Regions from separate parts of the Homo sapiens genome. Here all the other regions are linked to region 1. The links are contacts of gene promoters, found by promoter capture Hi-C in blood cells and fetal thymus (Javierre and others, 2016). All regions are on one chromosome and are shown on one strand. Each heading gives the region's core, a stretch centred on a gene start or on the middle of the fragment in contact. The rest is flanking DNA. Distances are from core to core; before and after follow the strand shown.

Region 1 (3,112 bases), core at 334-2,833:
AGAAAAAGATTACTGTTTAGTACACGTTTCCAGGTTTTCTCTGCTTTTTATTGTCTTTGACAATACAAAATTTTACAAATTTGTAAGCTGAGGAAAATTGATAGTAATGAAAATTTTTCTTGTCCATAAAATACAAATGCATAGTGTTATACAGTGCCCAGGAGAGACAGTGATTACAGCTCTGTGGATATTGACCAGTTTAACACTCATGTGTAAATACATTTCAGCATTCCTGCTTGCTTTATGTATTTTATCTCTCTTTATCTTATCTTTTTGAGACAGGGTCTTGGTGTGTCACCCAGGCTGGAGTGCAGTGGTGCAATCATGTCTCAGAGCAACCTCTACCTCCCGGGCTCAAATGATCCTCCCACCTCAGCCTCCCAAGTAGCTGGGATTACAGGTGTGAGCCACTGTGTCTGGTCTGAATAAAGGAATTTTTAACTTTTAATTTTAACTACTTTAAATTTAAAAACTGATGTTTGGTTCAGCGATTTGAAAACAGTATATTTGGAACCGCTTGGATATGAGAATCTGCTTTTTAACCATACATTGATGAAATCTAAATAGAGAACAAGCATTTCCGATGACAGCTGCTCTCTCAGATTGAAATGCACTGCAAATGTAAAATACACACCGGATTTCAAAGTCTTTGCAAAAAAGAATGTAACATATCACATTCCTTTTTTTATTGATTGATTACATGTTGAGTATTGATTGGTTACATGTTGAAATGATATTTCGGGTATAATAAAGTGGGGTCAGGGAAAAATATTTTTCCCAAATAGGAAAAATAAATGGGTAAAATAAAGCGTACTATCAAAATCAATTTTACATTTCGTTTTGCTTTTATTTATTTATTATTTATTTTTGAGACCAAGTCTAGCTCTGTCGCCCAGGCTGGAGTGCAGTGGCGAGATCTCGGCTCACTGCAACCTCCGCCTCCTGGGTTCAAGCGATTCTCCTGCCTCAGCCTCCAAGTAGCTGGGATTAGAGGCGCGTGCCACCACGCCCAGCTAATTTTTATTTCTTTCCTTTTTTTTTTTTTTTTAGTAGAGAGGGGGTTTCGCCATGTTGGCCAGGTTGGTCTCGAACTGCTGAACTCAAGTGATCTGCCCGCCTTGGCCTCCCAGTGTTGGGATTACAGGCGTGAGCCACCGCGCCCGGCCTTCTTTTTGTTTTTAAACGTGGTATTGACATTTTAAGATGACATCTGCAACTCGCAACACTGGGACAAGGGATTCTGGGTCATAAATTCTCCCATTCCTCATTTACTCTGCAGCACCGGGTGGCTGCGAACTCCGCTCTTCTGCTTGGGTTTCCGCATCACCAGCAGCTTCTTTCCTTCCCAGGTGTCGCCGCCTGCTTTCTGCAGCCGCTGCCTGGGAGGGGTTCCGAGGTTCTGGGCAGCCACAGCCCCGGAGGCCTTACAGGAGCGACCTGGCAATTCCCGCCGCCGGCCGCCAGAGGAAGCTGCTTTGCTGCTGTCGTTGCCCAGCAACTCGTAGCCCGGAAGCAGTACCCCGTCTCGCTCGGTTCCGCGGCGGCCACGCTCCGGGAGACTTCCGGCAGGGCGGGCGCGGGGTCTTGGCGAACGGTCTTCGGAAGCGGCGGCGGCGCGATGACCACGCTACGGGCCTTTACCTGCGACGACCTGTTCCGCTTCAACAACATGTGAGTGACACGCGCCTAGGGCCAGCCGCTCTTGGCCGGGCCTCGCTTCCCGGCCCCGCCAGCTCCGGCCCCAGCCGCGCCTTCCCGGCCGGACCCCAAGCCCGGACGGGGACCCGCGAGAACCACCCCCCGCCGGCCAACGTGGGCGCCTCCCTGGGGCCACAGGGTCCAGGGAGAGGTGGGCCTGGAGTCGACGCACGCCGGCCTTGGCGACCTTGGCCGAGGTGCTCAAACTTTGTCTCTGGACCCTGCGAGCTGGCAGGTTCTGGGGCAGCGCTCGGGCCTCCGCTCGTGGTCGCTGTCAGGAGGCGCTGGGGTGATGGGGCGAGCTGGAGACGCGGCCTGGAGCCCACGACCTGGGCTTCTCGCCCTGCCCTACTGCTTGCTGGTTCGTGGCCGGGCCGCGCCTCTTCTGGGCAGAGGGCACCGCCGACGGCCAGGCCGCAGAGGGGGCTTGCGAGGATCGGAAGCTGGTCAGCAGCTGTTGGGATGTGTACATCGTGAAGCCCACCTGGTGGCCGTGGTTAAATTGTATCCAAATGAAATGACACTGATCACTGCGTCCCCTGCAGCAGATGCTGTCTCAGTCATGGTTAGTGTTTGCAAGTTTAGTTACTGTAGCTGCGCACCCCGGTGTACACACCTTTCCTCTGTGAGGAGTCACGGCAGATCTTAGGGGAGGCTCGCTGTGCCCAGAGCCCTGGATGCAGTTTCTTTGGATTCGAGTTAAGGCCAGACCTCTGATTTGCAGGTACCAATTTTTTTTTTTTAAGAAAACATTTTATTATGAAGATTCCCACACATTTAGAAAAGTTGGAGGAATTTCACCATGTGCTTTTATAGACACTTTTCCTGGATTCTGCAGTTAACATTTTGCTACGCTGGTATCTCTCCTTCCTTCCCATCTATCAGTCCTGGATCCACTTTAAAAAAACAACAGGGCGGTATGTGAAAACTAAGGACAAAGTGGTTCCGATTCAAGTGTCAGGAAGATGGAAAGAACTATGGGATAAGATGGCTGGGAACATTTCAAAGAGGGGGTGAGCCTTGAAGATGGATAACACATTGGTAAGTGAGGAAGACGGAAGTTCCGGAGAAGGAGCGGGGCATGAAAATGGGGAAACTTGAAGTGCGGTCAGACAACTGGGATCAGTGCGAATCTAGTGGCTGGTTTCTGCCACTGAGCAGTCAGGAAGAAATGGGTGAAACAGGAGGGGTTTAGACTTGATCCTGTGGAAAGAATTTTCTGTTGGGCCAGTCTGGTAGCTACGGTGACTTGTGTTGAACTCACTGTTCCCTGCATTGTTCTGAGTGCCCACGTAATAATCCAGTTAATCCTCACGATTCTTTGAGGTGCTGTCACCCCCATTTTGTGTATGAGTAAACCAAGGCATGGCAAGCACAAGTGAATTGGCCCAGGTGAGAATGAGTAAAGCGAGGA
Region 2 (3,112 bases), core at 359-2,858, 680 kb after region 1:
GTTCAAAATGGTGGCATTTCTGTGAAATTAACTCAGTAAAGACTGAAGTGGCTTTCCCCAAGGAACCCTCTTTACCTCCAGGAAATCATCATATTATCCCAGCTTGTGAGCAGCCTCCAATATTGTCATCTCTGCTGTGTCCCTAACACAAGAAAACGAAGGCCCTTCTGGTCACTGGGCAGTCACTCACAGGCACACAATCTGCTAACAGCATGTGAAGGCCTGAAACTCATGACCTGAAGGATGGGTGATAGGGAATTTTGTTATAGGAGTCCAGTGGAACACACTACAGCCATTGAAGTCTTATGTAATTCTTCACTTACTGATGTGGAAAAATATCCAAGGCTTTAAGTCAAAAACACAGTGTTAGACCATGCAGATGACTATTCATGTAAAACCGTGTTTGTGTGTGTAAGCGAGGCAGGTGCAGGGAAGAGAGAGAGAAAGGAATGCACCCAAGCAAGAGCCAGCCTGGAAAGCACGTTCACCGGGATTTCAGTAATGCTTGGCAGGGGACTGCAGAATTTGAGAACCCCTTGATACCTAAATTATTTTTCATATATTCATATTATCCAAATGTTTATAATGAGTATGTAAAATTGTAGAACCAGAAAAAGCTATAAAGCTGTTTTGGGGGGTACTTCCAGGGCGTTCGAGAAAGGGATTTTTTTCAAAGCCTGAATATTTACTGCAAAAAACTCATCAATCATGACACCAGGCCATACTTTTTTCCAAACCTGTCTTACTTTTCAACTTTGAAGAAATCTTAAGACCCAAACAATATATAAAAGAGTATCTTTACCAATTCTAAAATGTTGTAAAAAACAGCAAATGACTTAAATTTTCTCTATCCAACTTTTAAATTACTCCTTCTGTAACAGCACATACATGGTACATAATGCCTTAGAATGACCTAGTTATCTGGAGAAGCTTTGCTGTTTTTGTGTTTCTCTAGACATCATTCACTGAAAAGGATAAAAAATAATAGAACTGGGCAGAAAGACATTTCTCTGTCCAGCCATTCAGCAGCTAGCACTGAGTAGGCATGAGCAAATGTTTGACACTTTTGAATGCAAAGATGTGATGAAATTTCCAGTCACAATGAGACCCATTCCCAAGACCTGGGAGCCTTAGTCCATATGAGTCAACCTTTCCTTGTTGTGCTTAAACCTGACGCTGACTGACTGTCAACTGACAGAACAGAAGCTTCTTCATAGCACACTATAAAAGTGCTAAAGACCTGGTTTATGCTCAGAAATGATGTCTCTGGAAGAATACAAATGATTGTCCTCCTGTATGTAGCTAACCTAATACTGTCATATTTTGAAACACCACAGCCACCTTTCTGAGTAAGACATAAGGTTCAGTTAGCAACACTGGTTCATAGAATTACATCTTTGCAATTAACACTGAGCCAAAGATTAAGATTCCCTCAGGTCTTTCCATTGAGAAAAGACCAACATAAAGCACAACTGGGGTCCTAATTTGGGTGGATATCTGATGTGGAGCCAATCTGCAGTGTTTGCTGCCTTTGCAACCATTCATATTAAATTGTTGTTGTACTGACCCATCAACATTTTTCTGGTCTCATTCTTCTCCAGCCACTGACAGATCTCCATTTTTTTTTTGTCAGCATCAAGGGCACTTTTTAATATGCCTGCTCTCTGCCTGTCAGTAGATTTGGGGATAACAGCAAGCCCGTCTCCATATTGTTACAAGCTCAGGCCGCTGTGTGGGCCCATTACATGGCCCAATGTACTCCAGCTTTCCTGTCCCACTGGCCACAAAGTGTTTCCGTCCTGTCTTCTCATCACTACTCGCTGCTGCAGTAAGGAGGGACACAGGCTGCCTGTCCCCATCTTCCTTAACACCTTTGCTTGCTACAGATTCCACAGCCACTCATTCCTCTTCTCTGGCACTTCTTTCTCTCTCTTCCCTCTTCTCTTGTCTGCCTCCAGTCACTGGTCGGTTTTTGGGCCAAAGATCTGACCTTTTATAAAGTAAGCCAAAGAAAGCTTTGTTACAAAGCTTGTGGTCAGAAAACCTATCTCTGGCAAGCTAACCAAGCAAGTGTAGTCTCTATGAGGGAACCACATTGATTCCTTTACACCTAAAGGTCAGTTCAGATCACTCCTCTGCTCTTTGCTTCACTGGAGTGCCCCATCTTATCTTACTTAGAGTAACATCCCAAGTCCTTACTGGGATGCCAAAGTTCCACACCATCTTATCCCTATTTCCCCTCTCCCACCCCCGCTCCTTTCCCAGTTCCTTCTATCCTCCACCCCTCCACCCCTATTGACTTCCATGAGATTTCCAGTCTATTTATGACTCAGATCCTGGTACTTACTGTTCCTTCTGCTTAGAACACTATTCCCCAAAAATAATCACAAAGCTGCTCCCTTGCTTAACCCAGGTCTCAGTCCAAACCTCCCTTCAGAGAGGCCTTCCCTCACCCCAATATCTAAATAAGCATACACATACCCTTATCAAGCTTAATTTTTCTATCATCATTACCTGAAATTGTATCATATATTTATTATTTGGTTTTTTTGTTCTTGATTTTTAGAGATGGGGTCTCACTGTGTTGGCCAGGTTGGTCTTGAACTCCTGGCCTCAAGCAATCCACCTGCCTGGGCCTCACAAAGTACTAGGATTACAGGCATGAGCCACTGCACCCAGCCTGTTATTTATTGTCCATCCACCCTAATAGAATGAAAGTCCCATAAGTGCTAGGGCTTCATCTGCAAATAGCAGACACTCAGTCACTATATGTGGAATGACTTTAAAAACAGTGGAAACAGTCTAAGCTATGTAGACTTAAAGAGTGGTCAATCCCATTTGTTAAAAGGGCAACGCTTTACTTCCATCAAACTAGAAAAATAATCCTCTCACTTGAGCCTGGGAGAGCAAGGCTGCAGTGAGCTGTGATCACACCACTGCACTCCAGCCTGGGTGACAGAGTGAGACCTCCATCTCAAAAAAAATTTTTTAATTAAAAAAATAGAAAAATAATCCTCAAATATGACTCCCATAATCTTAAATAGAATTTACAGAATGTCATCTAAGGTTTGCTCAATGTTTTATGATTATTAGCACAAAAGTCAATGAATGT
Region 3 (3,112 bases), core at 276-2,775, 560 kb after region 1:
CTTATGTATTATTTCTAAAAAATTAAAATTTAATTGCTCTTTTCAGCTATATAAAACAACAGCTTGCAGCTTAAAGTGTATTTGTTCGCTGATTCAAGTATTTATTAAATGCTTCTCTCCTGTCCTGCAATATTCTCGGAAGCAAGAATCAGCTGTGCACATAGCAGACAACAGGCGTCCCCCTCCTGGAGTCTGCATTCCAGTAGAGAAAGACCTTGGAATCTCCCAACTAAACCAAGATGCTAGATAACATTTCTCACCAAACCTTACTTTAAAAGTTATCACTGAGCTAACAAGAACATGGAAAGAAAAGAGCAACAAAGCTGGCTTTTTCCCTTTGTGGTTCTGCTAAACCACAGAATTCTTAAAAGTTTCTCTGGTAATGCAGTTTTCATTTTGCTGAGGTTGAATTACTGACACTTTTTTTATGGTTAGCTATTTTTTAAAAAAAATCATAGAACCTTTTAAAAAAGACGTTTTCTTCCAAAAGTTTTTAAATTTTCCTTTTCACATTTATGTACTTTATCCCTCTGAAACTGACTTTGGACATGGCGTGAGGTAGGAATTCTATTTCATTTTTTTCCATATGGCTAAGTACTTGTCCCACAGAAATGTGTTGAACAATACATTGTTTCCTTGTCAGACCTGACAAGCCACATATATCATATATCATGATTCCATGTCTGTGTGCACTCAGTGCTATATTTTATCTTCTGTTCCATCCGTCTATTTGTCTATCTCTATGATTACAACTTTAAGTAAATGTCATAGAATTTATCACATTATTTGTGACTATTAGGATAAATGTTGTGTCTTCTGTCCTTTTTATAAGCTCTTAAAAACTATAGTGGCTTATGACTTATTCATCTTTTTATTTCTCAGAGCATCTAAATCAGTATTTCTAGACTATAAGCTTATTTGTTAAATAAGGGATGAGGTAAATGACAATACTGATTCTTAGCTGTAGACTCATAAATGTCCCCCTCCCCTGACTATTTCAACAGAACTAAATGTATGCATGTCTTAAGTATATTTTCTTATTTTCTGTCTTCTCAATGCTCTGGCATTAGGGCCTCACTGATCAGGGAAGGACTGCCACTTCCAGGGTTAGCTAATTCCTAGAGATAGAAGTCTATTCACCAGGCAGCATGTCTTTCACATGCAAACCTACCAATTCAAAATTCAGACCCTCCAACTACCTCCTTTCTCTAGTTCTCACATACTAAGTCAATATCCCCTGCCCTGTCATCCTAGGACTGGGTACCAGGAAACTAGAAACAGCCCGTATGCTCCAGAGCCCACTGAAGTCATTCATATTAGTAATCCTAAAACTGCATACCCTGCCTTGCCTTGCTATTTCCATAGAAATGACACTAAAAGCGGTTGCCCCATTTTGTTCCTTCTGCCTCCTGGTACTTCCCTGCATGACCCCTGTTTCCAGGGATCCGTGAGTATAAACTTCTTCCTCCATGACAATCATTTCCATGTCTGTATGTCTTACCACATCTGATTAAAACAAATCCCAGGTAAACTTTAAGACAATGCACAGTAAATTTAGCTGTTATTTTCAGCAAACATGATTTAATGAGAAAGCAAATATAAAAGTAAACAGTTTGCCAGTGATGAAGGAATTTAAGATTTTGGAGGCAGTTTATTATTCTAAGCATTTGATAACTGGTAGGATTATTCAATAAGAAACAAAGATATAATCAAATTGTTTCTCTTTGCATGTCCTAAAAATCAGGCTCATATGAGTTTTATTTTGAACATTTATGAAGAAATTGCTCTCTTAAGAACAGAAAGTTAAATTCAGAACTGTGATAATCCTTAAGCCTTATCACATTACAGTTTGTCCTTTTCACAGATGACAAGGTGAACTATTGAACTGCGTGTACTGATTCTCTATATTAGTATTTCAAAGAAGAACGGAGTATTTGGAGGAGTTAATCACAACATGGAGTGCATCATATAAAATTACCTCACAGAGGTTTATTAAATTGAGCTGTCCAATACATACCCTGAAATGGGATCAAAACTAATCTTTCCAAAGAACAGACAAAAGAAGTAATCACCTAATTTTCTTCCCTTTCAATAAAAATAATTAAAACTAGTCCATGTTTAAGTAAATTCAACCTACTGAAGCTTCAGTTTTGCCTCCTACAGTACCACAATGATGACTTTCTTTTGGATAATCTGTAAGGATTCTCAAGTAGGTCAAAGGGCTTTACAGTAATTTTAATTTTAACAGGAACACAGTGTAAAGGAGTAGACATAGCACTGCACGTTGAGTCAAAACATTTTGGAAGCCAGTTTCATCTCTGGAACTCACACTCCAGCTTGATAACAATTTCTCTGGGTCTCAATCTCCCCATCTCTAAAACAGACATGATAAGACTTGGCCTGCTTCCCATACAGAATCAAAGAGAATGCCTCAAAATTCTTTGTAAATGTTGAATCTCATATCAATGTATAGTATTATTAGTCAAAATCATTATTTAGTCTATAAAGAATTTTACTGAATACCACCTTCATATGTTAATTTTATGAAGTTTTAATGACATTCTATCAAGAATTTCCCAAATATCAGAGACGTTAGTTAAATTTTAAATCACAGTGAAAACCAGTTTGCTTGGTTTAAAAAAAAAAATCCATTTAAGGTCAAATTTTAGCCTTTATGTTAATCATTTTAAAATATTTTTTGGCATTTTAATAACACTCTTAACATGTTACTTTGTGGTGGTTGTTTTCATACAAGATACCTGTGTGTGAACATGAATGTGCATCCATAAAAGTCTTGGCTCTGGTCAGCCTTTCCCGCACTGATTCCTCAGACCACGAGTCTCTCCTGACACTCCACAAAACAAAGCAAAACCAAACCCAGCTCCTCCATGGCCTCCCCGTTCTCATCAGCCTGGTCAAACAGGTGAGGGAAACTGACCTTTGAGGTTGACTTACCCAGTGTCACACAGTGTGTGTGTGTGTGTGTGTGTGTGTGTGTGTGTGTCTGTGTGTGTGTAGCTAAAACTGCAGACTACACCACACACAATATTTTGGGCACCTGACTTAGATGTTCACTCATTTATTCTTCCAACAGCCTTCATAAAGTACGGGC
Region 4 (3,112 bases), core at 313-2,812, 540 kb after region 1:
TCTTTATGAATTATAAACCACAGTCATGATTTAAATCTCTTATATTCAAAAATCATTCCTCTCCAAATGGGAGTTAATGTATCCTCCTTCCCCAAGTATAACTTTAGTACCTGAAATGTCTCTAGAAGCTATTCCTGTGTCTCTCAGTGCCTCTGTGCCTGGAGAAAAATGTAACATTTCTTAAAGTCTTCATAGAACTCTAAATGAGAAAAGATGGTCTTACAGGTCAATAGCTATATTCCAAAGAGCAGGAAAATCCCTTCTGCAATGAAATGTACCATTGCCTACTGAAGGCCTAACTATCTTTCCCTTCCCAAAGTCCCAGAGTCATCAGAAACCCGTTTCATGGAATAAGCAGCACAAGCCAAACAGGCTATGTATCTGTTCACCAATTCATGGATGCAGTGACTTGAGTGCAAGGCTAGGTAGGGCTCAAGCTCTAAAGTGAATGTTCCCTTTTTCTGAGGCTGTCCTAGAGCGTCAGACAGCCTTGGACTGAATACTTTAGAGCTTGAAAGGCTTACAAACACAGAACCTATCACCTGCCATATTTGAACAGAAAACTGGATTTAGTGTCTCCTGATGATGAGCTAGAATCTACCTATTAGTCCTGGCTCTGGGTAAAACAGTCTCTCTCACACAGCACTGCTTCAGACATTTGAAAAAGGCAATTATCTGTCTCCATGCACCAGCCCTTTTCCATGCAAGCTGTTCTCTCAGCCATCCTGCTTCCTCTTAGCTACTCAGGCAGTGCTCATGCAAGAAGTGGAACCTGAGCCCCCTTCCTGCCTCCTTTCATACATACAGTGCCTTGGGCTTTGCAGATGCAGGCCACACAACTTTCTACTTTGGGCTTCCAGACAAAATTCATCTCAGATAATTTTCATGTTAACTTCAGAATTAATCAGAACGTTCCATGTTTTATTTCTTAAACTGATTTTTTTAGACAGAGAATTTAGTAAGCTGAACCATTATGAAATTGTACCCCCTTTTTGAAAACTCATTTAACTCAACCTGAAACATTGACTCTCTTAATCTCCCTGGTTAAATTTTTGTATGCATTTATTCCCTTGGTTAAGCTAACAGAGTGAGACTTTCATACTGTCTTTGATTACTGAGTTGTGTCATTTAATTTATATTACCTAGCTCTTTTCTTAGGACAATGTCATCTGCAGAAGTACTCCTTTAGGGCAAGGTTTCTCAACCTCAGCAGTACTGACATTTTTGGTCATAAATTCTTTGTTGTGTTTCTGTGCACTACAGGATATTTAACAACATCCCTGGCTTTCACCCACCAAATGACAGTGCACTTTATGACAACCAAAAGTGTGTCCAGACATTGCCAAATGTTCCCTGGAGGGGGCAAAATTCCCCTGCCCCTCAAGAATCACTGTTCTAGGGTAATGAAAGTTGACTAGCTCACCACAGTAGAAAGTTAATGCCTGCCTTGAAACTGATAGTTGGAGCCAAAATTGCAACCAAAGTGGCTCAGCTCAGCTGCTTTGGTTACCCATTCTTCCCCATGATGCTGTGTAGATTTGGAATAGCCAGTCTCAGAAGAAGGTCTTTTTTTTTTTCTTCCATTTTCTATCAATCAATATATCTACTGAGCATCTACCCTCTCTGGGAAAAGACAGAATGCACTCCAGTGACTCTATTAAAAAAGATTCCGGTGATCTGGGCTCTGTGACAGGCCACAGTAGAGTCTCCTTCCAGAGAGAAACCTCAGAGCAAAAGAACATGTTCTCAACTGAAAAATGTATGCCAACTGATACACGATATCACACGGTAACAGTTTACTAAGAACAAAATCTTTCCTTTTCCCACATATACTGAGAGTTGCTATACTATTTTTATGCTTTATTTCACGTAGCATGTCTTATTAGATACCGGAAGATTTTGGGCTAAATATACATAATTCATATTCATGTCTGATAACATTTACTTGAAAGAAAGTCTTTACACCTTTAAATCCAACAAAGGAAACCAAACAAAACTGTAGTTTCTGGCCTGTCAGGTAGATTTTCTTCTCTCTGGATCAGCCTCCATGCTATCATCTTACACTTTTTAAAGCTGTGAAACAAGTTCACTGCACATGTGTTAAACCTCATAACCGAAACCTCTGCCATCTGTTACCTCCTACATATTTTTACTTTCCTCATTGAGGTACAAGTGGGCTCTGTCTACAGATTAATGAAAATAATTATTGATTCTACAGCTATAAAAAAAAGAAAAAATATCTCGCATTTATTTTTGGTGCAGTCATCTATCTGAAGTCTTTATGGCGATTGATAGCTGAATAAAGTTATAATAAAACTTTCATTGATAAATTTTGATGAATCTGTGGCTTGTCCATTCCCACAAAACCTTGTGGAAAACACTCGGAAGGCAGTGGATGCTACCTGATGGTGTAACGTTAATTATATGACAGCTTCTGTATTTTATCACTCTGAATTTGTACAATAAGCACAAACAGGAATTATGATTAACTTAACAATACATGTCAGGAGAGGACTGTCATCTCTCACCTGTCCTTATAAATATTATCCTTCAATCAAACCTAAGTCAAACTTGGAAGTTTTGTTTATTGCTACAGTAAACTCCCCTTATATTCAATAATATTTCATTAACTTGAGTAAAGTAAATTCAGGTCAGAAGTTGTATTTTTAGAAAAATAAAAGGACTTGTTTTTAAGTGCTACATTACTTTCAGAAATAATTAGTAACAAATATATGTCTTGGCTAACAAAAACATCAATTACAGAGCCCTTTAGATGTCCCATTTTAATAATTATAAATACATTTACAATTTGCATACCAACTGCTTGAATTCCAACAGAATTAGAAAATATGTTCTCTTAAGTACAGAGAAAATGTCCCTGGAAATCTTTCCTGCACATTTCTAATTCCTAACAGGCAAGAATTCTTTGGGGACACCCCTTGGTGTATCCTCGGATGCACCCATTTGGCCTGTCCTATGCTATAATGTCCAAGGTGAGGAAGGGTCATCAAGACATGAGTCGAAACTTACAGTCCCTTTATCCTATCATGCCCACATGTCTTCCTTTTCTCAATTCATCTTCTTGCCTTTCTGAACCAACATTTGCCTTGAC

Evidence for each region. The method cuts DNA at HindIII sites, captures the fragments that hold promoters and counts their contacts. A CHiCAGO score of 5 or more calls a contact.
Region 2: a contact is called between a fragment that was not itself captured here and the fragment with the promoter of NAA20 in region 1, in 1 of 17 cell types (total CD8 T cells). The highest score is 5.2, in total CD8 T cells.
Region 3: a contact is called between a fragment that was not itself captured here and the fragment with the promoter of NAA20 in region 1, in 3 of 17 cell types (naive CD8 T cells, fetal thymus and non-activated CD4 T cells). The highest score is 5.8, in naive CD8 T cells.
Region 4: a contact is called between a fragment that was not itself captured here and the fragment with the promoter of NAA20 in region 1, in 1 of 17 cell types (total CD8 T cells). The highest score is 6.0, in total CD8 T cells.

Annotation. Positions count from the first base shown.
Region 1 is chr20:20,015,779-20,018,890 of GRCh38, forward strand. It overlaps NAA20 (N-alpha-acetyltransferase 20, NatB catalytic subunit), which reads left to right and starts at 1,584. Exons shown (of 6, transcript NM_016100.5): 1 at 1,584-1,671. The coding sequence starts at 1,619. RefSeq lists enhancers at 1,091-1,270, 1,885-2,385, 2,847-3,112 and silencers at 1,591-1,660, 1,711-1,830. The HindIII fragment of the contact is 8,583 bases long and covers 1-3,112 here.
Region 2 is chr20:20,694,355-20,697,466 of GRCh38, forward strand. The region is part of intron 1 of RALGAPA2 (Ral GTPase activating protein catalytic subunit alpha 2); the gene reads right to left. Among named protein-coding and RNA genes, the nearest start is that of RALGAPA2, 17 kb to the right of the region's middle. The HindIII fragment of the contact is 809 bases long and covers 1,205-2,013 here.
Region 3 is chr20:20,579,194-20,582,305 of GRCh38, forward strand. The region is part of intron 20 of RALGAPA2 (Ral GTPase activating protein catalytic subunit alpha 2); the gene reads right to left. Among named protein-coding and RNA genes, the nearest start is that of RALGAPA2, 130 kb to the right of the region's middle. The HindIII fragment of the contact is 1,229 bases long and covers 912-2,140 here.
Region 4 is chr20:20,560,619-20,563,730 of GRCh38, forward strand. The region is part of intron 23 of RALGAPA2 (Ral GTPase activating protein catalytic subunit alpha 2); the gene reads right to left. Among named protein-coding and RNA genes, the nearest start is that of RALGAPA2, 150 kb to the right of the region's middle. The HindIII fragment of the contact is 3,753 bases long and covers 1-3,112 here.